Linked DNA regions of Homo sapiens: regions 2, 3, 4, 5, 6 and 7 are each linked to region 1. Evidence: promoter capture Hi-C in 16 types of primary human blood cells and fetal thymus (Javierre and others, 2016). All regions are on one chromosome and are shown on one strand. Each heading gives the region's core, a stretch centred on a gene start or on the middle of the fragment in contact. The rest is flanking DNA. Distances are from core to core; before and after follow the strand shown.

Region 1 (3,639 bases), core at 331-2,830:
TCCCCCTGAGATTTGACCAGTTCCAAAGATAGGCAAGGATCTAGAATGAGAAGAAAGAAGAAAATGTATTTCCCAAACAGCCTCACTGTCAAAGGACTGGGATTCAGCCACTGTACCTTGCAATCCTGATCTCCCATGGGGGAACGACATACTTTTTCCTCTCTAATCATCACTTGTCTCACCCCCACTCTCAACACACACATCCCTCTTAGCACATTAATCAGTGAGACTCCTAAAGGTACAACTTCTGAGATATAAGAAATAGGATCCAAGAAATCAACCCGACATTTTACAGGCAACTGAGCCTTGAGTTCACACATGCTTCCGGGACTTGTGAGCCAGCTCAGCCCTGCGGAGACACCCCCATCTCTTTGAAAGCAAATGCCTTTAGGAGGCGGGGACAGGCGTTAGAAGAGGTGGTGGCAAGGTCCCTGATTTGGGGACTAAGGCTAGGACACTAACCACCATCTTGCCATAAACACTTCCAGATTGGGAATGGGGGGCGGCGGGGGGGTGGGTAAGAGAAGGGACTGGGAAACTGGCAAATTCTCAGACTGGGACTTCAGGATGTGGAAATCGGGAGCCACTGCTGAGGTGGCCAACTGAAGGTGAAGAAGCCCAAGCGTCTGAAGTGCGGGCAGGGCCTGAGGCGTCTCGAGCTTATCCAGCAAGCAAAGCCCGGGCAGCCTAAGCGCGCGCCACCCACACCCAGGTCAATCGTCCTCCCCACCCCCCGCCCTCATCCCAGCCCTCGCGCAGTGCTCCCCCCTTCCCCGACCGCCCCCCAGGCCTCCGTCATTCCCCCTCCCCGCCCGGCCCCGCCTTCGCCTTACACTGAATGGGCGGGTAGCAACTGGGGTCCTCGCCGCCGGGCTGGCAGCGGCTGGAGAAGGCGCTGCGCGGGGTCACGTAGTTGCTGGGGAAGATGCCCACCCGCTGGTTCAGCTGCCCGGTCCACCAGCCCTCGTCGCCGGACACCTGCGAGTCCTTGGACAGCACCTCCACCACGTCGCCCAGCCGCAGGGTCAGCTCGTCCTCGCCCGCCGCCTCGTACTCGAACACGGCCGTCCAGTAGGGCAGCGGCGCGTCGCAGCCCAGCTCCCCGGGGCCCACCGCCGCCGCCGCCTCCTCCTCCTCCTCCTCCTCCTCCTCGGCCCCGGCCCCTGCTCCATCCTCCCCCGGCGGGGCGGCAGCGGCGGCGCTCGCTAGGCAGCCGAGAAGCGCTCTGGAGGGCTCCATGGAGCGGCCGATCCATAGGGTGCGGGGCCGCCGCCGCCCGCAGGAGCCGCCGCCGCCTATTGTTCATGCGCCTCCGCAGAGCTGGGAGGACCCCCCCCCAACGACGGCGGCCGCAGGTAGGGCCCGGGCTGGCAGGGCTGGGAGAGCCGGCTCGCCGGCGCTGTTACCGCGGTACGAGAAGAGCGCCGAGCGCGAGCTCTTCGCGCAGCCTAGGGGCGCAGCGGGCCGAGTCCCCGCCTGCCCGCTCGCCCCCCCGGGGGCGGCCTCGTCACCTCTGCCGCCGGTACCTGCTCGCGCAGCCGGTGCCCGCCGCTGCCAGCCGGCCGCCGCTCTCCTCTCCGCGCCGTGCCGTGCCCCGCCCCCCGCACCGCCAGCTCGCCGGGACCACCTGACGCGGGCCTGGCTCCGCCCCAGCCCTGCGGACCCCAGGGGGCTCCGCCCCACGCCCGCCCCGCCCCGCGCCCGCTGCCTTCCCATTGGCTGCGGCCGCCCAGTCCCCGGTTCCTCCGCCGTGGTTGGGGCAGCCTAGCTGGCCGTCTCGCAGGTCCCTCTCACCCCCTGCGCCGCCGTCGCACCGTGCCCTCCCCCATTGCGGGCTCTGTCATTCTCAAACCCAGGTCGACCCACTCTTCCCGCCCACTGGCCCGCCGCAGCTCCCTCCATTGGCTCGCGGCACCTGTCCGTTTCCTGGGAGAGTTCAGCACCTCCCGGCAGGAAGAGGCTCCGGCCTCATTGGGTGCGTGAGAAGGGAAGGGTGGATCCTAAAAGGTAATACTGAGCCTTCATTCAAACTAAAAGGCTGGAAGGGAGGCAGCTGCCTTTGTTTGCCATGGATGGGTAGGGGCTGCACTGAGCAGCACCGGTGTTCTTCATCCGGCTGCACCCCCAACAGAGCTCTTTCTTCCCCAGATCCCTTTTACAGTTGGATTCTCCCTCTTGGATCTGGCTCTGCCTTAGTCCGACCTAGAGGGATCAGCTTCGCCCACGCCCACTCTCACCCGGAACCTTTCATCTCTTATTGAAGCCTTTTAGGCCCATTGGGATGTTCATTAGAACTCTGAAAACTACAGTTCTCCCCTTTATGAGGACTGCACCACAGCTCGCCCTCTCCTGGGTTCCGGTAAGAAGAGATTCCAATACCACTCTTTTTTCAGAATTCAGAAAGGCAAGAGACCACCTTACTGAGCTTCAAACTGGGGCTGGGAACGCTGCCATGAATTGGGCTTGGTCTGTCTGAAGGGAGCCACCTTTTCGACAATCCTTAGACTTCTTTTGCCTGTTGGAATTACACCTTGGATCGTGGCGAAGTCTATAGAGGTCAGATTAAGAAGAACCAAAGCAGAATAAACGTAGAACCCGATGCTGAGTTCACGAGTGAGGACGACCTCTTCCTATATGCTTTGCTATACCCTGCGTTTTGAACATTAAGGACGAGATAGGAGGCCCATAATGTTTCTTCTTGCTTTAATCCTGTCGTGGCAACGTTGACTTCCAGTAAGAAAGGTTCTCTGATCTTTTTTTCTCTTTTCTTTTCTTTTCTTTTCTTTTCCTTTCTTTTCTTTTCTTTTCTTCCAGGGTCTCAGTTTGTTGTCCAGGCCAGAGTGCAGTGGCGCAATCTCGGCTCACTGCAGCCTCAACATCCTAGGCTCAAGCCATCCTCCCACCTCACCCTCCCGAGTAGCTGGAAGTACAGGCTCGTCTTGAACTCTGGGCTGAAGTCATCCACCTGCCTCGGCCTCCCAAAGTGCTAGGATTACAGGCCTTAGCCACCTCACCTAGTCCTCTGAAATTTCTAAATAAGCCAGTGCTGAAGGATCTAGCCCAACTTCTACCAAACTTTGTTACCTTTTCCCCTTCAGTGGTAGGAATAGACATGATTTATTTAGCAAGGGTGAGTGCTTTTGTTGAATTTTAGTTTGGGGTTTATTATTACACAAACTAAAGACAGCGGGGCAATTTGGAAAGATAACTAGGCAGCTGCATGACTTCAGGCAGGTGTCCTAACACTGTACTCTTAAAGTGAGGGGAGTGAACTGGAAGATATCCTGTGTCCTCATAGTTTGAACATTCTGTGGTTCGCTCATCAATATGACTACACTGTATAGTCATAGCACACATTTGAGGTCTTGAAGAAGAGAGATGAGGCTTGTTCTAAAAAGCATCCAGAGTAGGTCTTGAAAAAGGATTTCTGTTTAAGTAAAGACCTAAAACAATGCTCAGATTCCTATTATACATAGGATCCATGAACTGGAAAAGATATGGATGAGTCTGAGTAAATTATCTAGGTTTTGTTTTAGACAAAACCATTCCACTGTCAAGCAGCAGAGAGCAAGGGAGTGGGGATGGAGGTATATTGTGTTTTTTTAAAGGCCATAAGAAAATAATTGTCTTGATAAAATT
Region 2 (3,639 bases), core at 370-2,869, 240 kb after region 1:
AAATAACTCAGAATGAGATATGTTTTTAATGGTGAACTATTACTGCTTTCATATATAAATGATGACACATACCTAGTTTGTTTTAAAGACCAACACTTTTCATTAAAATAAATTATTGATCTTATTTTTTAAATCTTAGAACATGTAGTCTACAAATTTTGAATCAGCATATCATTTTGACATTTATAGTACTAACAGCAAAGTTGTTTTTTTTTCTGGTACTGATTTTAGCAACTGAAAGAAAAAATATTATTTCTTAGAGAACTTCCTAAAGCCAGGTGATGCTATTTTCAGATAGCCAAAGAACCATGTTTTAAATCTTTTAGTTTATCCTAGACACTTTCCCCAATGAAATAATATTGTAGCATTGGAAAAAAATATTATTGGCAATGAAAGCTGCTCTTAAGTATGTGAATTCAAATCATACCATATTTTTATTTATTTTGGGTGGAAAGAGCAATCTAATGATCTTCAGTAATCTTTTTTCAATAAGTTATAAGCATAAATGAGAAAAGTTATGGTTAAAAACTGAGGTTTCAAGAATTAAAGTTGGAAACTCATCTAAATGTTAAATCATGTCTAAGTTGCAAATTTGTAAGTATCTCAGAGCTCATAGAAGTTGACAGTTGATTAAAGTACTGGCTTTTTAAAAACAGTTTATTTGTAGTTTGGTACTAAATTTGTTGTAAAATTTTTCTTTCTCATCACATTGACAAACTATACATTTGATGACATGTAGTCTTGATTTATACTGCCTTGTTAGATGCAGCCACTATGATGTGGTTTGAGAAACTTCATGTGTGGCTTCTTTTTGTGGAGAAGAATATAATCTATCCATTGATTGTTCTCAATGAACTGAGCAGCAGTGCAGAGACAATTGCTAGTCCAAAGAAACTGAATACAGAGTAAGTATAGTAGTCTTCTAATATTGTCTGACTACTGGGGGCTGTTATAAACAATGTCTTAAGTTGTTGATCAAATATTAAATAATTGTTTCCTTCATGCAAGGCACTGTGAGATTAAAAATTTAGGTGACATTTTGTCCTTGACTTACCTTTTTTAAACATTTGTTTCTGCTGTTGGCATATTCTGTACTCCAGACATCTCATTGTCAATTGATATTTTATGAGAGGACATTTTAAAATAAGGTTAATTTTTAATATTATGTGGCTATTTTGATGCACTATGTAACTTACACCATATAGATGGTCAGTTGCCTCCATAGTCATCCGATGAGCCTGCCCAATAGAGTAGGTACCTATTGTTGAGTCAAGCATTAATATGTTTTTCATTTGCTAAATGCAGTTGGTGTTAAAGTAATAGAAATATTGAGAAACTAGAGAATCAGATGTCAGAATTACAATACTATTATTTTTAAAACATAGTCCTTCATATAAAGGATAAGAATCATAATGAATAGTATTAAAAGGGAATAGTCAGATACTTTCAGGATGTGATTTACCTAGCTCTATACATCATTTTTGGAAGCTTACATTTAATGTATATATTATAAGCTTAGTAAAGTAAATGGTGAATTTTATTTTAAGTTACTGTCTCTTCTAATGTTTTCAGTCATGAGTTGATTTGTGTTTTCTTTGTGCCACAGATTAGGTGCTTTAATGATCACTGTTGCTGGTTTGAAGTTGCTACGATCCTCTTTTAGCAGCCCTACATATCAGTATGTTACAGTCATCTTTACTGTGCTGTTTTTCAAATTTGACTATGAAGCTTTTTCAGAGACCATGCTGTTGGATCTCTTCTTTATGTCCATACTCTTCAACAAGGTAATTTATCACTGAAAGGAATATCCTTATCTATAAAAACTATCTCCCTGGGTTATATGCTAGTCAGAATTTTTCTTATATTTCATGTGATTTATTATTGTTTAAGTAATAACTCTCTTCAACCAGTTATTTAGGAGCACATTAGAATCCCTAAACAAAGATAGTCACTGTGATTTATAAAAGATATATTTCTTGCTATAGCTAAGAAGATAAAGTTACATAAAACAATTAGAGAAACATTAATAAGTATATTTTAAAATATATAGAATCTCTCAAAAGGTATATAGTTTTGAATAATTTTAGAAACAGAAGTGGTAATAATTGAATTGGGCTCTGGCATAGCCCAATGAAGCAGGTAGAGGCTGAGGAGACTGAGGCTAGGTGGGAGCAGTCAGAAATTAGCTTGATGTGATATTTGCAGAATACTCTGAACTTTATAGGCTTCTGCTAAAATTCATTATCCACCCATAAGATAGATGTTCTAGGCCTTTTACAAATAAGATGGTAAAACCTTGGTCCTCTGCCTCCTAACCCAAGAATCTTTTTGCTGAATCACACTACCTTTCTCAGTGAAATAGGCTGTACAGTCAGATTATTTGTCAGTGAAATAGTAATTCAATTTCATGTTAACACTGACCACATACAAAGGACTTTGACATACATTATCCCATTTGATAGGTAACAGAGAGCTGAAGCAAATGAACAGCTACAAAACACAATGAAATTCCAGTTTTAGGGAAGTTAGCCTGGTCAGCCACATTTGGCTTCATTTGGGGAAGAGAGAACCTAAAGGTACAGAGAACAGCTTAAGCGATAATGACAGTAATTCAGATGTGATAGTAGTCTGATCTAGGATGGGGAACAGTAAAAATGGAAAGCCGTTAATTTGAGCAAAGTTTCATTGATAGTCAATTTCAGTATTGTGATAAATAGCTTCTAAAATATTTCAATATTATATCTGTTCAGTCACTAATTTGTATTTTTATCATTTATTTCCTCTTCTAGTGAGTATGGTTATTAACCAAAGGAGGAAGCCAGAAAATTAATCAGAGAATTGTATAAAGAAGCATGTGGTTTCCCACAAACTCAAATATTTAGATTGAAAATTGTATTTCATCTTATACTGGTTGGAAAAAAGTGAAAGTTGCAGTAAAATATAAAGTAAATAATCTTTGAAATGTAGTTGCTACACTTAACTCTGCATTAGTTTGGATTTTCTTAATACTTTTTATTTGTTAAATATATTTTTTAAAACAAAAAACTGTTTTAGAACTGTTCTAGATGCTTAGGCTACACCAATGAACAAAATAGAGAAAGCTTTCCCCTTGAGTTTGTATTTAAATTGGTCAGTAGATAGAATTTAACAATGATAATCAGTAATATTCAAGGGATTTCTTCAGATACATTTTTTACATTAAGATATCATTGTAAGGTACATCATGGATTTAATAACCTTTTAAGAAAAATTAAATGTATACAGAAATCCCTTTGCCTACCATCCTTTACATATTGTTACATATTGTTCTTTTCTTTAATATTATAGTCAAAATTGGAATACAGTTTGTTTCACAGACTCTGAAGAGCTTTCTGAGTCATTGCTTTTAAGTCATTATAATGGCATCGTGATGATATACATGCTGCTTTTACTTACCATGATCCTGATTATATTAGTGCCGAGGATTGCATAATTTTCAGTCATGGCAAAAATAATTTTGAGTCATGGCAAAAATACTGCAGTTCATCTACATTTTTTAATTGGTTGGAGTTGTGATTTCTTTTTTAAATTGGAAGTTAAGTTCGTTTGTAAATCAGTTAAAGTATTTTAAAGGATGAGGTGATTGTTGCTTAATCATGC
Region 3 (3,639 bases), core at 570-3,069, 220 kb before region 1:
ATGTGGCCCATAACTCAGGATTTTCTTCTGTTGTAAATGACATTATTGGCACCACTGGTGAAACACAAATAACATCGAAAGAGAGAGAGAGAAAGAGAGAAACAGCGACAGGAGAGCAAGAGTCAGAGACAGAAGAAAGAGAGAAAGAAAATAAAGACTAAAATACAGAAAAATGGTAACAGATAGAGAAGTAGGGTAAAAGGTATATATAGGAATTCTTTGTACTATTCTTACAACTTTTCTGTTTGCCGGAAATTATGTCAAAATAAGAAGTTGAAAGACAAAAATCTCACACAATACATAAAATTAGACATTTCATAAAAGCAGAAAAAGATGAGAAATTCTTCAACTACTTTAAATACTAAAATACCACTTTTGCTACTTAACACTAAAAACATAAATGACAAAATTCAGTGGTAGCAATTCTGGAAAACCTGATACATACTTTCAAACTTCGCTGTTTGAGTGATCACTAGTCCAACATTTTGAGGAACAACTTAGCAATATGGACTAAGAGCAATAAAAATGCAGAGACTCTAGTGATTCCACTTCTGGAACTCTATCCTAAGGAAATAAATACCAAACACTGAAAAGGCATTATACAAAGATATAATCACAGCAGTCTTATATAAAATAATGTAAACTGGGAAAAATCCCAAATATAAGACAGAAAGAAAACTGAGATACAATCATTTACAGAAATTCGGACACTAAAACAGTCTATAAAAACTACATAAACATGGGGAAAAGCTTACAACAGATATAATAAAGTAAAATTGTACGAAAGGAATGATTAAAGTACAGTTTTAAAAGCATCTACATGCAGCAAGCACACTCAGCCCCCTTGCCATGAGATACCCTGTGCTGCCTAGGGACTTTGCAGACTTCCTACCAGCAAGAAGGCCCTCACCAGATGGAGCCAATCAATGCTGGACTTCTCAGCCTCCATAACTTTAAAAAAAATAAAATTCCTTTTCTTTATTGAAAAAAGAAGTATCTACACACAGAATAAGATTAAAATTCACAACACTGTTACAGTATTTATAGGGTAATGGTATTGGTGAGTGAGGTTTTTCCTTTTCTTCATCTTCCAAAATGTCAGCAACTGTTTATTTTAATACTGAGGATTATGTAACTGAACAAAAAGAAATATGCTTAGTTACTACTTTAACATCCTTTATGTCTTCAAAGTGCATCTGAAAAATATCAGTTATGATGAAGAAAAAAGTCATGATGAAGCAATATATACAAATACCTTTATTTTGCTTTTAAACATATCTACCAGTAAACATGTGAGTGTGTAGGTTGCTCAAGTCCGGGAGAGGAAAGGTTACAGAAGACATATAACAAATATTCACAAGAAATCATGATGGGAATAATATCTTTTCTTCTTTTTTGAGACAAAGTCTCGCTCTGTCGCCCAAGCTGGAGTGCAACAGCATGATAATCAGCTCAGGGCAACCTCCACCTCCCGGGTTCAAGCAAGTCTCCTGTCTCAGCCTCCCGAGTAGCTGGGACTATGGGCGCCCGCCACCACGCCCGGCTAATTTTTGTATTTTTAGTAGAGACGGGGTTTCACCATATTGGTCAGGCTGGTCTTGAACTTCTGACCTCAAGTGATCCACCCGCCATGGCCTCCCAAAGTGCTGGGATTACAGGCGTGAGCCACCACATCCGGCCTAATATCCTTTCAAAAAATAAGCGCATTCCATACAAATAAGAAGGTTACAATAAAGTACTTCAAAGCTCAAGAGCCACAGTACTGAGGTATGATAACTAGCATGAGGAGTCTTCCAGGCTTCTCTTTTGTCCAGTACTCACTGAAGTCTCATCCGTTTTTCAGGGGGGCCTTTAGCACTCACTGTCTGTTGTACATTCTTTGTGGTCTCCTTCTCCTCAGGTTTTACAGTTTCTGGTATAGGTTCTGCCTCTTTCTTTGTTTGATCCACTAGATATCAAAAGTAGATTTTTTGGGAGGGAGATATGGGTGGGGGGAATGAGATAAATGGTTAATATGAATGGCTCACATTTTCAAATTCATTTTTAACTGCTTATCTCAAGTTCTAGATCTAGCTGTTTCCCCAGGCAGATGTATACAAGAACCCAGTTACAAACCTAACAACCTGAAAACTCAAGGAAATTAATGATACTAGACAAAACTACATAGCATTTAAGTAAGACAGTATGTAAAAACAAGATATATAATTATTCTAACCCAGTACCATGATGGTTCAATACCTGTTTTCAATAATGTAACAGAAAACATCATTGTGTAAAAATACAGATTTGATGAAGAAACCTCGAATCACAGTGGCTTCCTCACACCTCCTCAATACCTACTTTTTCCCTCCCAATTCATCTTTTCACTACCACAATCACTACCACAATGGCACCACCTGCTGACAGTTCAGCAGCTCTCAAAGATTAAGAGTAAAAAACTACAATGGGAGACTCTAGAACAAGACTGTTCAACCCACCGCCCACGGGCAGCATGAGGCCCAGGATGGCTTTGAATGTGGCCCAACACAAATCTGTAAACTTCCTTAAAACATTATGAGACTTTTTTTTTTTTTTCAGCTCATCAGCCATCATTAGTGTTATTTTATGTGTGACCCAAGACAATTCTTCTTCCAATGAGACCCAGCCCCAGCTCTAGAAGGACAAAATGACCACAGCTCATTTCACATGCTATACTTGTGATTGATTTACAAGCTGTTTGACCTTATTTCAAGCGTAATAAGAATATTACATGAACCATACCTGGAACAGGCTTTTCTCCAGGCTTTAGCTATAATTTTTTAGAAAAAAGGGAGGGAGAGGAAGAGGAAAAAGAAGAAAACAGGTCAACTTGGCAAAATTTCTTCTTCCTGATGTCATATTAATAAAATGAAAGCTTCATCCAAATTACATTTCAAATGACTTTGTGAAGAAAAGCTACTATGTATGTACTATAAAGTAAATTTATCATTTTCTACTTCTTATTCCCCATTCCAGAAAAGACACAAATCAAAAACTAGAACAAGATAGTCAACCAACCATAAAAACACTTGAACATTTAACAAAGACTTCCACCTCCACACCCAGGCTACAATGCTTTATAAAAAGCAGTTCAGTAGAATCCAATGGGAAGAAATAATAAGTCTTTCAATACCCCAGAGTCTTATTTCCTTAGGGGTTATGACTTATGGGAAGGGAGAATGAAGTATGGATGAACCATGACTTTTAAAGTTGGTAGGCATGGGAAATTTGGAGGGAAAAGAGATTTCTGATGAGTCTATTATTAAAAACCAATCTATAGGAAAAAAAGATAAGAGCATTAGAGGTTAGAAACAAGGTCAGGTCCTTCACTCTGCAAGCAATTCTTTCACTTGATTAAGCTCTGTCATCTCCTTTGCCCCATTCCCCAAGTTAAATGCTCTACGACATTCTTGTCTTCTTCTACCCCTCATCCGATGACACTGTCTCCCATGTTTAAAAACAACAACAACAAAACCAGGATGCCAACACCACCAACTTCCTTACCATCTACCTTCAAACTTATTATAACTTTATATACATATACACATATATATTTAAAATACCTTATTACTTCCATATCATCTTAGAAGAAAAAACAGTCTCTTCACTTCTAATGCCTCC
Region 4 (3,639 bases), core at 776-3,275, 200 kb after region 1:
TGGTTAAAGAAGAAAATTATCCAAGAAATTTAAGAGACCTCTTTTGTTGTTGGTACTTGGAAGATTAGAAAAACACTATGGATGATTTGTTGTTCTAGTAACCACCTCCTTCCAAGATACATATAGGTAACTTTAGAAAAATGAGTGATGTCAAGAATGCAACAGGCTGGGCGTGGTGGCTAACACCTGTAATTCCAGCACGTTGGGAGGCTGAGGCAGGAGGTATCACTTAGGCCCAGGAATTCGAGACCAGCCTGGGCAGCATAGCAAGACCCCCATCTCTACAAAAAAGTTTTAAAAAGTAAGCCAGGCACTGTGGCGTGTGCCTGCAGCCCCAGCTACTCAGGAAGCTGAGGTGGGAGGATCACTGGAACCTAGGAGTTTGAGATTGCAGTGAGCTATGATTGTGCCATTGCACTCCAGCCTGGGTGACAGAGTGAGTCTCTGTCTAAAAAAAAAAAAGGGGGGGTGGGGAATGCAATTGGAGTTTCTTAGGTGAGTACTGTTCTTAAAATTCTTGATGTACTCAACTTCGTTTTGTATGGTGAGGATTTTTACTGATAGGGTAAGTTAGAGAATCCCATTCATTTCCCATGTCTTTTATCAGTGTCTTGTGAATGTTTATCAGAATTTGCCTGCTGCACCATTCATGGCTCTAGGCAAATGCTTCAAGTATCCTTGGTGTTAAGTGAGTATCCAGTTTTACTCATCTTCCTGTTGCTCATCACTTATTCATTGACCTATAGTTGTTACTTTGAAATATTACTTCAAAAGAATGGTTGTGTGTAATTAACAAATTTTATGAACAATAACAGTCACTATTGAGTATTCAATAAGACTGCTAAGAAATACTAGGTATCTTAACTTTTTTTTTTTTTTTTTTTGAGACAGGGTCTCACTCTCTTGCCCAGGCTGGAGGGCGGTGGCATGAACACAGTTCGCTGCAGCCGCAACCTCCTAGGCTTAAGTGATCCTCCTACCTCAACCTCCCAAGTAGCTAGGCCCATGGGCACATGCCACCACACCCAGCTAGTACGTGTGTGTGTCTGTGTGTGTGTGTGTGTGTGTGTGTGTGTGTGTGTGTGTGTGTGTGTGTGTGTGTGTGTGTGTGTGTAGAGATGAGGTCTCACTATGTTGCCTGGGCTTGTCTTGAACTCCTGGGCTCAAGCAGTCCTCCCACTTTGCCTCCCAAAATGCTGAGATTTACTGGCATGAGCTACTGCGCCTGGCATATCAGCTTTTTGTGTATGTGTCTTTAGAGATGCAGTCCCTTGGCCAGTATAATTTTTACAAGTCTGAAATTCCAGTTTCTAATCGTGTTTATTTTGTTAGAAACTGATTTTTTTTTCTCCTTAAGTCATGACAGAGGCATTCTATCAGGTATAATTAATTGGTCACAGTTGAATCATGATGAGATGGCTTAGTTTATAATCCAAATTCATGTGAGAAGGACATATTTCTTTGCTCTGCTTTCTACTCTGTTTATTAGAAAAAATTAGTATTGAAGTATTTTTCTTAAGGCAGAATAATATTAAAATAGGGGTATTGTAACGGCATATTTTACTTCAGATCTAAAGTTTAAATATGATGGTTTTAATCTCAAAAGAAATAGTAAAATTGCTGTGTATGCCAAGAAAACTTGTACAAACGTAATCTTCATAAACCAATAGTAATATATATTTATTTCTGGTTGGTTATTTTTTAAGCTGCCTTCAGTAGGATACATTAGCACATTAAATTACATTTAGTAATTTCTTTTTCTGGTGTGTTTATCTTCAGAGTAAAATTTGGTACTTCTAAAGTACATAGACTTGTTCTTTTGGAGTGAAGTTGGGACTACACCATGAGGCCTTATTACAGTGTTAGTTTGTTCTGACAAATGCCATGCGTATTTTTAAGAACCTAAACATGCTTCTGAAGCTTAATAGACAAAAGCCTCTTAAGGAAAAAAAGAAAAGCACTGTTGAAGTCATGTACTTCTGTTAAAATCATAGCCTCTCTTTTAGACATATTTATGCTTCTGCTTACATTTTTAGATTTTATTACTTGTTAGTAATTTGGATAGAATCATTCAGAGTTGTAAATTCAGGTAGTAATAGAACTACTCAATTTTTCCAACTGTCTGTTTAGAAAAGCTTTTTTTTTTGCATTCTTTATGTTTATTTATTTAAAATGCAACTATTTCTATGTAAATTTAATATTAGATATTTATACATAAAAGACAACATGGTAGTATAATGACATCATATTCTTTTACTGTTTCATTTGAAAATTACAAAGATAATATCTTTAGTTGATTTTGTCACAGATACATATTATTTTTAATATACCAAGAACAGAACTTATATATTAATAAAAATCCTTTGGAAAGCTTGAATGCTGAGAAATACTGCAACAATTTAAGTTCTATTGAATACAGAATTAACTTATTTCTAAAATATGTATAAATTATGTTATGACAATACATTTATGCATTCTGTTCTTACTGAGTTTCATATGCAGTAACCAAGCCCTCTTTGCTCTTTGTTAATCCATGATTTAGTCATTTAATGTAGTTAACAATAATTCTGCATTTATGTAATCCATGATTTTGAGCAGATATTTCTTTTTTCTCTTAATCTAAGTTTAATTATGATAGCAGCACTAATCATTGATTATCCAATAAATGAATACAGAACAGAGCATTAAAAACTGCAATTAAAATTTTTTTAATTTTAAGTGAGCCGGTATTTTTTATTTTTTTTTCGGTAGCAACTTCTGTAATTCACCCTACCACTTTAAAAAAACTTTCAGTGATACATCTATGAAGTAGCCAAGTTGACGGCTTGTATCATTTCATTTTAGCTCATTAATCCAGTTTCTATTAGAGGTGCTAAGGATGAATGACTTATGACTAAAAGATGGGGGTGGGGAGTGTCTTAAATAATTTACATGCTGAATAACCTTGAAAAAAGACAGCAAATGACCTGAGCATTTCACAGAAAACCTTTTTTTCCCTAACTTAGGAGTATATTATTCGACAAAAAAAAATGTGGCTACAGAAAACAGCATAACTTTTATGATCCATAGAATGTACTTAAATAATTCAAATTGTTGTTTTTTTCCTGGTTCTAGTCGTTTTAAAGAATGAAGTAATGCTTGAGATGTTCTGTAAACTCTTAGTCATATTAGTACATTATGGAGTCCTTTTATTAGCATTTTTTCAAGTATTTCACTTAAATAAAAAGCCCTTATTGCACACTCTGCATTGTAGGCATGGGAAAATCTGACTTTTAGCCTTACCATCAAGTCAACATTGACCTTTAAGATTCCTGTTTTGGCCGGGCGCAGTGGCTCACGCCTGTAATCCTAGTACTTTGGGAGGCTGAGGCAGGTGGATCATGAGGTCAGGAGATCAAGACCATCCTGGCTAACACGGTGAAAACCTGTCTCTACTAAAAATACGAAAAATTAGCCGGGCGTGGTGGCGGGCGCCTGTAGTCCCAGCTACTCGGGAGGCTGAGGCAGGAGAATGGTGTGAACCCGGGAGGCAGAGCTTGCAGTGAGCCGAGATTGCGCCACTGCACTCCAGCCTGGGTGACAGAGCGAGACTCTGTCTCAAAAAAAAAAAAAAAAAAAAAAAAAAAGGGATTCCTGTTT
Region 5 (3,639 bases), core at 781-3,280, 180 kb before region 1:
ACACCAATTCTTCTGAAATTCTTCTAAGAAATGGCAGATGGGGAATACTTCCAAGCTCATTCTATAAGGCTATGAGGCTAGCATTACCCCGAGACTAAAGCCAAAAAAAAAAAAAAAAAAGCCACCAGAAAAGAAAACTATAGACCAATATCCTGGAGGAATATTAATGCAAAAATCCTCGAGAGAATACTAGCAAACTGAATTCAGTCAGATGTTAAAAAAAATTACACACCATAGCCCAGTGGGATTTATTTCTGAAATGTAAGAATACTTCAACATATAAAAATCAACCCATGTAATACACCACTTAACAGAAGGAAAGGGGAAAAACACATGATCATCTCAATGCAGAAAAAGCATTTGACAAAATTCAACATACTTTCATGATTAAAAAAAAACTCAACAAACTAAGAATAGAAGGAAACTGCCTCAACAAAACAAAGGTCATTTATGAAAAGCTCACCGCTAAATCATACTCAGTGGTGAAATACTGAAAGCTTTTCCTCTTAGATGAGGAACAAGACAAGGATTTCTACTCTCTCCATTTCTATTCAACATAGATTGGCAATCCTAGCCAAAGCAATTAGGTAAGAAAAAGAAATAAAAGTTATCAAAATTAGAAAGGGAGAAGTAAAATTACCTCTGTTCACAGATGACATAATTTTATACATAGAAAGCCCTAAGGACTACACACACACACACACACAGAGAGAGAGAGAGAGAGAGACAGAGAGAGAGAGAGAGAGAGAGAAAATCTATTAGAACTAATCAATAAATTTAGCAACATTGCAGGATACAAAATTAACACACAAAAGTCAGTCGCATTTCTATACACTAACAACAAACAAATTCGAAAAGGAAATTAAGAAAACAATTCCATTTATAATAACATCAAAAACAAAAAAAATTAGGAATAAAATGAACTAAGAAGGTGAAAGACTTGTACACTAAAAACTATAAAACATTGCTGAAAAGAGTAAAGAAGATAGAAATAAATAGAAAGGCATTTCTTGTTCATGGTTGGAAGGCTTAATATTATTTAGATGTTCCTACTATCCAAAGCAATGTACAGTTTCAATGCAAAGGCTATCAAATCCTAATGGCATTTTTTGTAGAAATGGAAAAATCCATCCTAAAATTCATATGGAATTTCAAGAGACCTCAAATAACAACAACAAAAAAAAAATTGAAAAAGAACAAATTTGGAAAACTCAAACTTTCTGATTTCCAAACATATTATAAAGCAACAGTAATCAAAACAGTGTGCTATTGGCATAAAGACAGACAAAACAATGAAATAGAATATGGAGCCTAGAAATAAACTGTCATGTATACGGTCAAATGATCTTTGACAAGAATGACAAAACCACTCAATGGGGGAATGACAGTCTTCAACAAATGGTGATGGGAAAACTGGATATCCACATGCAAAAGAATGAAGTTGGAAACCTGTCTCACACTATATACAAAAATTAACTCAAAATAGATTAAAGATTTGAACATGAGATTTAAAACTATAAAACTCTTAGAAGAAAACATAGGGAAAAATCTCTTAACATTAGTCTTGGCAATGATTTCTGAAATATGACCCCCAAAGCACAGATAACTAAAGCAAAAATAGACAATTGGGATTACATCAAACTTAACTTTTGTGTATCAAAAGTCAGAATCAACATAGTGAAAAGGACATCTATAAAATGAGATAAAATATTTGCAAATCATTATCTAATTAGGGCTTAATAGCCAGAATATATAAAGAGCTCCTACAGCTCAACAACAAAAAATCAAATAACTCAACTAAAAATAGGCAAAGGACTTGGATAGATATTTCTCTAAAGATGATATAAAAATGACCAGCAAGCATATGAAAAGACGTTCAACATCACTGTTTATCTGAGAAATGCAAATCAAAACCACAGTGAGATATTACTGAGCACCCAGTAATATTTAGCTACTAGCCAAAAAACAAACAAAAAAAACCTTAGAAAATAATGAATGCTGATAAGGATGTGGCGAAATTGCAACACTTGTGCACTGTTGGTGGATTGTAAAATGGTGCAACTACTATGGTAAACAGTATGGATTTTCCTCACCAAATTAAAAATAAAGTTATCATATGATCCAACACTCCAGCTTCTGGGTATAAATCCAAAACAACTGAAAGCAAGGTCTTGAAGAGCTATTTGTACCCCCATGTTCACAACAGTACTATTTACAATAGCCAAAAGGGGAAAGCAATCCAAATATCCATCAACAGATGAACAGATAAGCAAAAGTATTACATACAATAAAATATTATTCAGGGCTGGGTGCAGTGGTTCATACCTGTAATCCCAGCACTTTGGGAGGCCAAGGTGGGTGGATCACAAGGTCAGGAGTTTGAGACCAACCTGGCCAACATGGTGAAACCCCATCTCTACTAAAAATACAAAAATTAGCTGGGCATGGAGGCACACGCCTGTAATCCCAGCTACTTGGGAGGCTGAGGCAGGAGAACCCAAGAGGCAAAGGTTGCAGTGAGCCGAGATGGCGCCACTGCACTCCATCTCGAAAGACAGAGTGAAACTCCATTTTGAAAAAAAACAAAAACAAACAAATAAAAAACTGCCTCGCCTTACACACTGAGGTAGTATTGTAAGGATCTAAATGAGGCTAAAATGCTTGATAAGCCACAAAGTACTAGATGAACTTATGTCATTATGAATGTGGCACTCATACTGGCCAGGCGCGGTGGCTCAAACCTGTAATCCCAGCACTTTGCGAGGCCGAGGCAGGCAGATCACAAGGTCAGGAGATGGAGACCATCCTGGCTAACAAAGTGAAACCCCATCTCTACTAAAAATACAAAAAAAAACTAGCCGGGCGTGGTGGCAGGTGCCTGTAGTCCCAGCTACTTGGGAGGCTGAGGCAGGAGAATGGTGGGAACCCGGGAGGCTGAGCTTGCAGTGAGCCGAGATCGTGCCACTGCACTCCAGCCTGGGTGACAGACTGAGACTCTGTCTCAAAAAAAAAAACAAAAAAAGCAAAAAAACAAAAAAAAAACCCAGAAAGAAAGAAAATCATTGAGGAGAAAGGATATCTGCCTGAACAGGTTTTTAACGCAGATAAAAGTGCCCTATTTAAAAATTAAATGCCACAAAGGACATTTATTAGTAAGGAAGGGAAGTGAGCACAATAATTTAAGGCAGGAAGGGATAGGCTAACTCTACTGTTTTATGGAGATGCAGATGGGTTTATAATCATGACTGCCCTTACCTATAAACCTGCTAACCCCTGAGCCTTGAAAGGAAAAGATAACACCAGCTGCCAATCTTTTGGCTGATAAGAAGGCCTGGATAATGAGAACCCTTTTTCTGGATTGGGTCCACTGATGCTTTGTCCCTGAAGTCAGAAAGCACCTTGCCAGTAATGGACTGCCTTTTAAGGTTCTTTTGATATTGGACATTGCCCCTGGCCACTCAGAACCCTATGAGTTCAACACTACAGGTGTTAAAGTGGCCTACTTGCCCACACACACAATGTTGCTAATTTCGCCTCTAGATAAGGGGGTCATAAGGACCTTTAAAGCTTATTAAATATGGTACTCTATGGAAAGGATTGTTAGTGCTGAGGAAGAAACCCCCAACAGAGAGAACATCA
Region 6 (3,639 bases), core at 621-3,120, 170 kb after region 1:
GAAAAGGTTTTGGTATGAACACCAAGAACATATTTTTTGGTTGCAATACTTGAATACGTCAATTTGTTCTTGATGGTGTCAAGAACACCAGTTTCTAAGCCAGTTGCCACCTGTTAATGTTTTGCTGGGAATAACAAAAATTAGCCCTCTTCCTTTGTATAGCAATAGCAACAATAAAATATATAATTATTTAAGGGCACCAAACCAGTTTTAATCAACTCTTATACAGTATATGACACTGAACTTTCAAAATTAGATCACTCAGCCTATTATATAAGAGTTTTACAAATATTACTTTAGATCTGATTATGTACATTGAGAATTGTGGCTCTTTTTTTAAGTCTGTATCTTTGGTTTTATTTCTTGCTTACTCAAGTTTTAGGCGTTACGAAAATACTATTTTTTTCTATAATTTCACACATTATTCTTAAAGTTTATTAAATTCAGATTTGTAGTTTATATTGACATTTGGTATCCATTAATTGATGTAAGATGCCCCCATAATAACAGTGATGGTGTTCTGGTTAAAGTAATAGCTTATTTATTTCAGGTTTTTGGAGAATTGTGCAAATTTGGATAGGTGATTTTATATTCTGTCAGTGTGTGTTGGCCTCTTTATTTCAGAGTTATTTCTTGCTGTGTTCTTCTGCCCAAGATAGTTTGTTTATTTGGTTCTGGTTTTTATGGAATCTGCTTCTTGAATAGAATCAGAAAAATCAGGTCTTTTGTTGTTAGTACCTTAGCATTTTTAGCCTCTACCCCTATTCCCTTTATTTATGCTTGTATCATTAGTTTTAAAGTTATAGTCTGTTTGATACAGTAATGTTCAGTCATTTATTAAAAGTTAAGCTGGATTTTGTTTGTACAAACATTATGAAACATATGAATATATGCTTTTTCTCAAAGATGTTAATTTCACCCGAAGTATTTTAAAAGTCCATATTGTGGTAAACATTTTCTTAGATTTTTTTGGGGGTCAAGTTTCTAGCCAGATTAATTTCTAATGGGAACGTAAAGAAATTTTCTAGTACCTAAAGAAGAATATAGTTTATCAAACCTAAATATTGAGAACTAATTATATCTGAAGTGGTTATAACCATTTGGTGACAGTAGAGTAATTAAATTCCCTCGAGTCTTTGACCTGGATATAGTTCTCTCTTTTTTTTTTTTTTTGTAAACAACCTGAAATGCTTGTAGTGATTTCTCACACAAATCATATCAGATATGTTCACAGTATGCAAGAAACCATTGGATTTTAAAATATAGCTTAATTTTTAAAGTTATCAAAATGAATTTTAAGTCAACATGCTATGATAGAAAAATATTGCTGTTCTGAATATTGTGGAAATGTAAATACTGAAAAAATGTGTACAAAAATATGTAGTAAATTCATGCGTTTATATTTAAAATGTCATTTCCTTTTCATGGGGACTGTGAGGTGTTCTGTTTTTTAGGAAAAGTTACCTGAAAGGTGTTATTTGCTTCTCGGTGCTGTTCTTTAAGCTATATTAGCCCTTGTTTTTCTAGGCTCTAGCTTTTGTTTTCTTTTGTTTGTACTGCTTTTTTTTAATTTAAATAACTCAATTAAATGTTAATAAGAGATAATGAAATAAAAATATCTGCTTTGGTGGAAGAAATGTAATAGTCTGTGGGCTGTTTAAAAACATTTTTTTGCCTGGGGCAGGCATTGCACAGGCTTTTTTAATTTGAGCTTCATTGGGTTTAGAATACAAATAAGAGCAAAACTAAAGCACTTAAATGTGTTGGGGGTTTTTTAATTGGTTTTTATCATAACTAAATATAGGGGTTTTGTTGGGAGTTTACTTGGGCTTTTTGAAAGGTTGGAGGTGGTAGAAGGGGATTTGTTTTGGTTCTTATTATTTAAAAATTACAGAGACTCTCAAATACTGTTTAAAGATACTTGTTTATGTTAACATTATCTGTTACAGTCCTGTCTGACAATTTAGAAGAAATGTTTCTGGGCTATCCTTCCTTACATACTGTACTACTGAAACCTGTCAACCATCATGTTACTGCTTGGCCATTCATATACCTATGCATAAACCATAGGTAGATTTTATCCTAAAGAATATGAAGGTGTCGATAAGTTCTCCAACGATTTCTTTTCATTTTATTTTAAGGTAGGTGGTGGTGGTAGTGTAGAGAGATGGAATTTAGGAAATAGACTTTAAAGTACTAAAATAAAGTATGCTAAAATAGGAGGTAATCTAGTTTAGTGACATGGAGTCAGATACCTTTGTTAGTATGTGGGCTCCACTGTTGTGACTCTAGGAAAGCTACTTACAAACCTCAGCTTCCTCATCTTAAAATGAGATGATTATAGTATCTATCTCATAGGGTTGTTGTGAGGACTAAGGAGTTAAGTTCCTGGCACACAGTAAATGCTTACTAGTGCTGCTGTGACTGTTCAAGGCCAGTTAGTTATGCTGCACAGTGTAGCCTGTCGTTTAACCTTACTAATTCAGTGGTATAAAATTAAAGTAGAAGAAAGTGATTAAATGTAGAAATAAACTAGAGATAGTCTAAGTGTGCCATTGTGAAACTCAATAGTAAAAATAAAAAATTCTGATTCCCTAGTTTCTTACATAATGCCAATAGGAAAAACATTTTTATTAACATCAATTTAGTGACATGGACCTTATTTTGGCAGTAATATGTCATATAACATCTTTTTTAGTCACGTAACAAGTGATTGTTTTCATACGTCCTGTCATTAGTCAAGTTCTTTGGTTAAAACTGAATTTCATCAATAATGGTTTGTGATTACTGAGACAGGAAATATGTTTTAAGTTCAAACTAAGTCATTTTCTGTTGATCTCTTGTTTTGTACTTAATTTTTCTTTTTAAATTATAAGGCATATCTTTATGACTAATATTTTAAGAAATGAAAACTACATAGAAGCTATATGGTAGAAAAATGTCCTGTGTTTTCTAGCCTGTATTACTTTTAAGGAAGTCGTTTTCTTTTGGACCGTTTAAACTTATTTCCTGTGTGATTCAATACTGTTGTTATAGCATATTTTCTGTGTCACTTAATGGATTACAAAGAATAGCCCGAGTGGAGAGGTTTGTGTTTACTTACTATTCTTTGTGCTTTTTTTCTGAATTGTTTAACTTCTATTTCTCTGTGAAATTTATTTTAAATATAATGTTTGAGTCACTATTCTGTAAGCATGAAATAGGATCCTAATATAATATTGTGTTGGGAACCAAAAATAATCTTCAAAGAAACAATTATTTAAAGAAAAGTCAGATCTTTTCAATAAAAATTTATGAGGGTTTGTGCTATACACATAAATTGAAGGTGTGTTATTTTGTACCCAGATATCATTGAGCATTAGACAGAAGATAAAGACCAGTAAACAGACAATAAAATGCAAATTGTAGCTTTTGTACTTTACTAAATAGAAGGACTCTCAAGTCTAATAAACTTAATTTTCTGATTTCCCAGTTCACATGGAAAGTTAGAAGCAGTAAATTAGTAGAAGGGATGGGTACTTATAGAAGCTGAAGTAATGACAGCAGAAGAAATACACAGCTAACCCTAAAAGAGAAGCTGTAATAACTGTACAAGCCAAAGCAGGAAACCCAGCGGTGTGTGGTCATTAAATGCAGGGA
Region 7 (3,639 bases), core at 335-2,834, 140 kb after region 1:
TGTTTTTATCATAGTGGCTTTATAATATGTTTAATACTTAGCATTGTGAGTGACTCCAGTATTTTACTTTTTTGATATTATTATTTTTTTGGGGGGCGGGGGTTGGTTGGTTGTTTGTTTTGAGATGGAGTCTTGCTCTGTTGCCCAGACGAGTGCAGTGGTGCGATCTCGGCTCACTGCAACCTCCACCTCCCAGGTTCAAACGGTTCTCCTGCCTCAGCCTCCCAAGTAGCTGGGATTACAGGCATGCACCACCACGCCCAGCTAATTTTTGTATTTTTAGTAGAGACGGGGTTTCATCATGTTGGCCAGGCTGGTGCTGGACTCCCGACCTCAGGTAATCTGCCTGCCTCGGTCTCCTGAAGTGCTAGGATTACAGGTATGAGCCACCACACCTGACCTTTTTTGATATTATTTTGATTATTCTCATGCATATACTTACTTTTGTGAGATATCTTCATGTGTGCTTATCCTCCAGAAAATTTCGTTAGAATTTTGATGACAATTCTATTAAATTGTAGAAACTCAACTTTTAAAATAGGGATATAGATGAGAGATTTCCATTTATTTTCTTATGTTTTTATTTATCATCTCTTTATTCACTTATCTTTTATGTCTTATAACCTTTCACATTTTTTAAATGGTTTCTGTACATTTCCTACGCCTATTCTATTTCTGTTAAGAAATGCATATTCGTACATTGTGGATAAGTGGACAGAATGTAGACTTCACACTCAGTCAGTCAAGGCTTCTTAATTGTAAGACATTGGAGAAGCTACTTAAGCTTTTGAGTTGGCTTTCTTGTCAGAATGATGAGGAAAATAATGGAACTCTCTCATAGGATTATTACAATGAATAAATGAAATAATATATAGAGAGTTCTTAGAATAATTCCTGACACATGGTAACACTTGATAATTGTTCTAATTATTTCTGGATATTATATATATTTGTCATTGCTTCTGAATTGTTTTTTCCATTTTCTTTTACTTTAAAAATTTTTTATTGTGAAATATGTATTCCAAACACTAAGTTAGCAATAATCAAGTGACTACTTCATTACCTACCACACAGCTTAAGAAATAAAACATTATAAAAATACCATATAAGCTTCATGACATTCCTCTCCCATTTCATTCCACTTTTCCCTTCAGGAGTAACCATAATCTTGAATTTTTTGTGAATAACTCCCTTGCTTTTCTTTATTGTTACACACTCTTCGTAGATATTCCTGAATATATTTATTTATTTTTGTCTGCTTTAGGACATCCTAAGAGAATCATACAGTATGCATTTCTCTATGAGAGATTTTTTTTTTGCACAGTATATTATACTTTATTGACTCACGCATGGTGATGTTTGTAGCTAGAGTTTATTCATATTGACCTACATGTAGTCTGCCACTGTAAGAATAGACCATAGTCTATTTATTCATTCTTCTATTTATAGCCATTCAGATTATTTCTAGTGTTTTTTGTCTTGTGGTACATGTGTATATCTAGTTTATGTAAGCTGGTTTATAGGGCATTTTCATGTTCAATTTTATCAGGCAATTCCAAGCTGTGTGCCAAAATGATTTTACCAGTTTATACTCTCACCGGTAGTGTATGAAAGTCCTTATTGTTCACATCTTCATCAACATTTGATATTGGTAAACCTTAAAAATTTTCCATTCACTTAGCTATTGATTTGGGATTTAAAAGAAGAAAATTGGCTGGGCAAGGTGGCTCCTGCCTGTAATCCCAGCACTTTGGGAGGGAGAGATGGGAGGACAGCTTGAAGCCAGGAGTTCCAGATCAGTTTGGGCAACATAGTGAGACCTTGTCTTTACAAAAAATAAAAAATAAAAAAAAATTTTAGCTAGGTATGGTGGTGTGCACCTGTAGTGCCAGATACTTGGGAGGCTGAGGCAGGAGGATCACTTGAGACCAGGAGTTCAAGAGTTCAGTGGGCTTTGATCACACCACTGCACTCCAGCCTGGGTGGCAGAGCAAGACCCTGTCTTGAAAAAATTTGCCATTCATGAAATGTAAAAGGTGTCTCATTGTGACTTTCAGTTAAGCTTTCTGATTACTACTGAGGTTAAACATTTTATTTTTTTATATATGGTCCATTTAGGTTTTTTCTTTTTTCCAATGCTCATTTATGTTTTGTTTCATTTTTCTTTGGAGCTGTCTTTTTCTTAATGATTAATAGGAATTTTTTATTTTTTTATATATTCATGCTATTCCTTTATTAGTTATGTATATATTACAGTCATCTCCCACTTGTGGCTTGTCATTTTGCTTTCCTTAAAGTTTCTTATGATTATCATATACTCTTAAATTTAGAACAATGAAATTTACCACTTTTTAGTAATCAGGTTTTTTGTTTTTTGTGTTTTTTTCTTTCTTTTTTTTTTTTTTTTTTTAATGAATTGGAGTTTCACTTTTGTCGCCCAAGCTGGAGTGCAGTGGCACAGTCTCAGCTCACTGCAACCTCTGCCTCCTGGATTCAAGCTAGTCTTTTGCCTTCCCTCCTCAGTAGCTGGGATTACAGGCATGTGCCACCACACCTGGCTAATTTTGTATTTTTAGTAGAGTTGGGGTCTCACCATGTTGGCCAGGCTGGTCTCAAACTCCTGACCTCAGGTGATCCACCCGCCTCAGCCTCCCAAAGTGCTGGGATTACAGGCGTGATCCACGCGCCTGGCTAGCATTTTTGTGTCTGAATTATTTTCTACACGGAGATCAGAAAGGTATTCTGTATTGTCTTTTTGAAGTTTCATGTTTCTTTTGTTTTCACATTTCAATTCTACCCAAAGCTATTTAAGTCTGTAGTATCAGGTAGGTTCTTAAGGCTTATTTTTTTCTTTATGAATCTCTGATTTACCCAGTATTTGTTAAGTGGACTATCTTTTCCTTAGTAATTTGCAGCAGTCTCTATGGCATAAGCTAAATTTTCATTTCTGGTGGCTTGTTTCTGGGCTCTCTGTTCTGTTCTGTTCTGTTCTGTTGATCTGCTTGCCTGTGCCATTACCATACCATCCTTATCAGCTTTAAAACATGACTCTTGATAGCCAGTGGGTTAAACCTCCTACCATATTCTTTTTTAGGAGAGACTTCGCTATTCTTGGCTCTTTGATTTTTGATGTAAACTTCAGAGTCTGCTAGAGAAAGTCTATAGGAACTTGGTATTTTTATTGGAGCTACACTAAATTTGTAGGTCCCTCTGCTGAGAATTTGCATCTTTACAATATTGAATCTCTCCATTTATTTAGTCTTTTTAAATACCTTTCAGTAATAGTTTTTCATTTTCTCCATTAAAAGGAAATTTATGATTTTATAGTATTTATGCTAGTATAATTTTGTTTTTCCCCCTAAAATGTCGCAGTTTATTTTGTGTCTAGCAATCTTATTAAACCCCCTTATTAATGATGTTCCCTTGTCTATATGATCACAATTATTTCTTACTTTCTAGTCCTTATACTTCTTGTTTAATTTTTTTCACTGGCTATGATATGTAGCACATGGTTAAATTGAAGTATTATTGGTGTACATCCTTGTCTTTTTTCTAATCTTTAATATTTTTAAGTTTCACTAGTAAGTAAGATCTTTGTTGTAGGTTTTTGTTTTTGACATCTCCTTTCCTCACCCTCAC

Evidence for each region. Contacts are between HindIII fragments. The CHiCAGO score rates a contact against its expected background, and 5 or more counts as called.
Region 2: a fragment that was not itself captured here is called in contact with the fragment with the promoter of MAP3K9 in region 1 in 1 of 17 cell types (naive CD8 T cells); the score reaches 5.2 in naive CD8 T cells.
Region 3: a fragment that was not itself captured here is called in contact with the fragment with the promoter of MAP3K9 in region 1 in 1 of 17 cell types (naive CD4 T cells); the score reaches 6.0 in naive CD4 T cells.
Region 4: a contact is called between a fragment that was not itself captured here and the fragment with the promoter of MAP3K9 in region 1, in 3 of 17 cell types (total CD8 T cells, non-activated CD4 T cells and naive CD4 T cells). The highest score is 8.7, in total CD8 T cells.
Region 5: a fragment that was not itself captured here is called in contact with the fragment with the promoter of MAP3K9 in region 1 in 1 of 17 cell types (naive CD4 T cells); the score reaches 5.8 in naive CD4 T cells.
Region 6: a fragment that was not itself captured here is called in contact with the fragment with the promoter of MAP3K9 in region 1 in 6 of 17 cell types (activated CD4 T cells, naive CD8 T cells, total CD4 T cells and 3 more); the score reaches 7.1 in activated CD4 T cells.
Region 7: a contact is called between a fragment that was not itself captured here and the fragment with the promoter of MAP3K9 in region 1, in 6 of 17 cell types (activated CD4 T cells, non-activated CD4 T cells, total CD8 T cells and 3 more). The highest score is 8.1, in activated CD4 T cells.

The regions. Positions count from the first base shown.
Region 1 is chr14:70,807,933-70,811,571 of GRCh38, forward strand. It overlaps MAP3K9 (mitogen-activated protein kinase kinase kinase 9), which reads right to left and starts at 1,581. Exons shown (of 12, transcript NM_001284230.2): 1 at 834-1,581. The coding sequence starts at 1,239. MAP3K9-DT (MAP3K9 divergent transcript) reads left to right here and starts at 852. Exons shown (of 2, transcript NR_184164.1): 1 at 852-1,355. RefSeq lists an enhancer at 143-202 and a silencer at 1,143-1,782. The HindIII fragment of the contact is 10,628 bases long and covers 1-3,639 here.
Region 2 is chr14:71,046,201-71,049,839 of GRCh38, forward strand. PCNX1 (pecanex 1) reads left to right here. Exons shown (of 36, transcript NM_014982.3): 21 at 764-905; 22 at 1,607-1,784. Among named protein-coding and RNA genes, the nearest start is that of PCNX1, 140 kb to the left of the region's middle. The HindIII fragment of the contact is 214 bases long and covers 1,513-1,726 here.
Region 3 is chr14:70,582,996-70,586,634 of GRCh38, forward strand. It overlaps MED6 (mediator complex subunit 6), which reads right to left. Exons shown (of 8, transcript NM_005466.4): 7 at 2,761-2,788; 8 at 226-1,948. The coding sequence ends at 1,818. Among named protein-coding and RNA genes, the nearest start is that of MED6, 16 kb to the right of the region's middle. The HindIII fragment of the contact is 2,143 bases long and covers 749-2,891 here.
Region 4 is chr14:71,005,057-71,008,695 of GRCh38, forward strand. All of the region lies in intron 8 of PCNX1 (pecanex 1), which reads left to right. Among named protein-coding and RNA genes, the nearest start is that of PCNX1, 99 kb to the left of the region's middle. The HindIII fragment of the contact is 215 bases long and covers 1,919-2,133 here.
Region 5 is chr14:70,626,131-70,629,769 of GRCh38, forward strand. All of the region lies in intron 2 of TTC9-DT (TTC9 divergent transcript), which reads right to left. Among named protein-coding and RNA genes, the nearest start is that of TTC9-DT, 13 kb to the right of the region's middle. The HindIII fragment of the contact is 3,070 bases long and covers 496-3,565 here.
Region 6 is chr14:70,978,806-70,982,444 of GRCh38, forward strand. The region is part of intron 6 of PCNX1 (pecanex 1); the gene reads left to right. Among named protein-coding and RNA genes, the nearest start is that of PCNX1, 73 kb to the left of the region's middle. The HindIII fragment of the contact is 3,810 bases long and covers 1-3,639 here.
Region 7 is chr14:70,951,274-70,954,912 of GRCh38, forward strand. All of the region lies in intron 2 of PCNX1 (pecanex 1), which reads left to right. The region is part of intron 1 of LOC105370557 (a long non-coding RNA gene); the gene reads right to left. Among named protein-coding and RNA genes, the nearest start is that of PCNX1, 46 kb to the left of the region's middle. The HindIII fragment of the contact is 952 bases long and covers 1,109-2,060 here.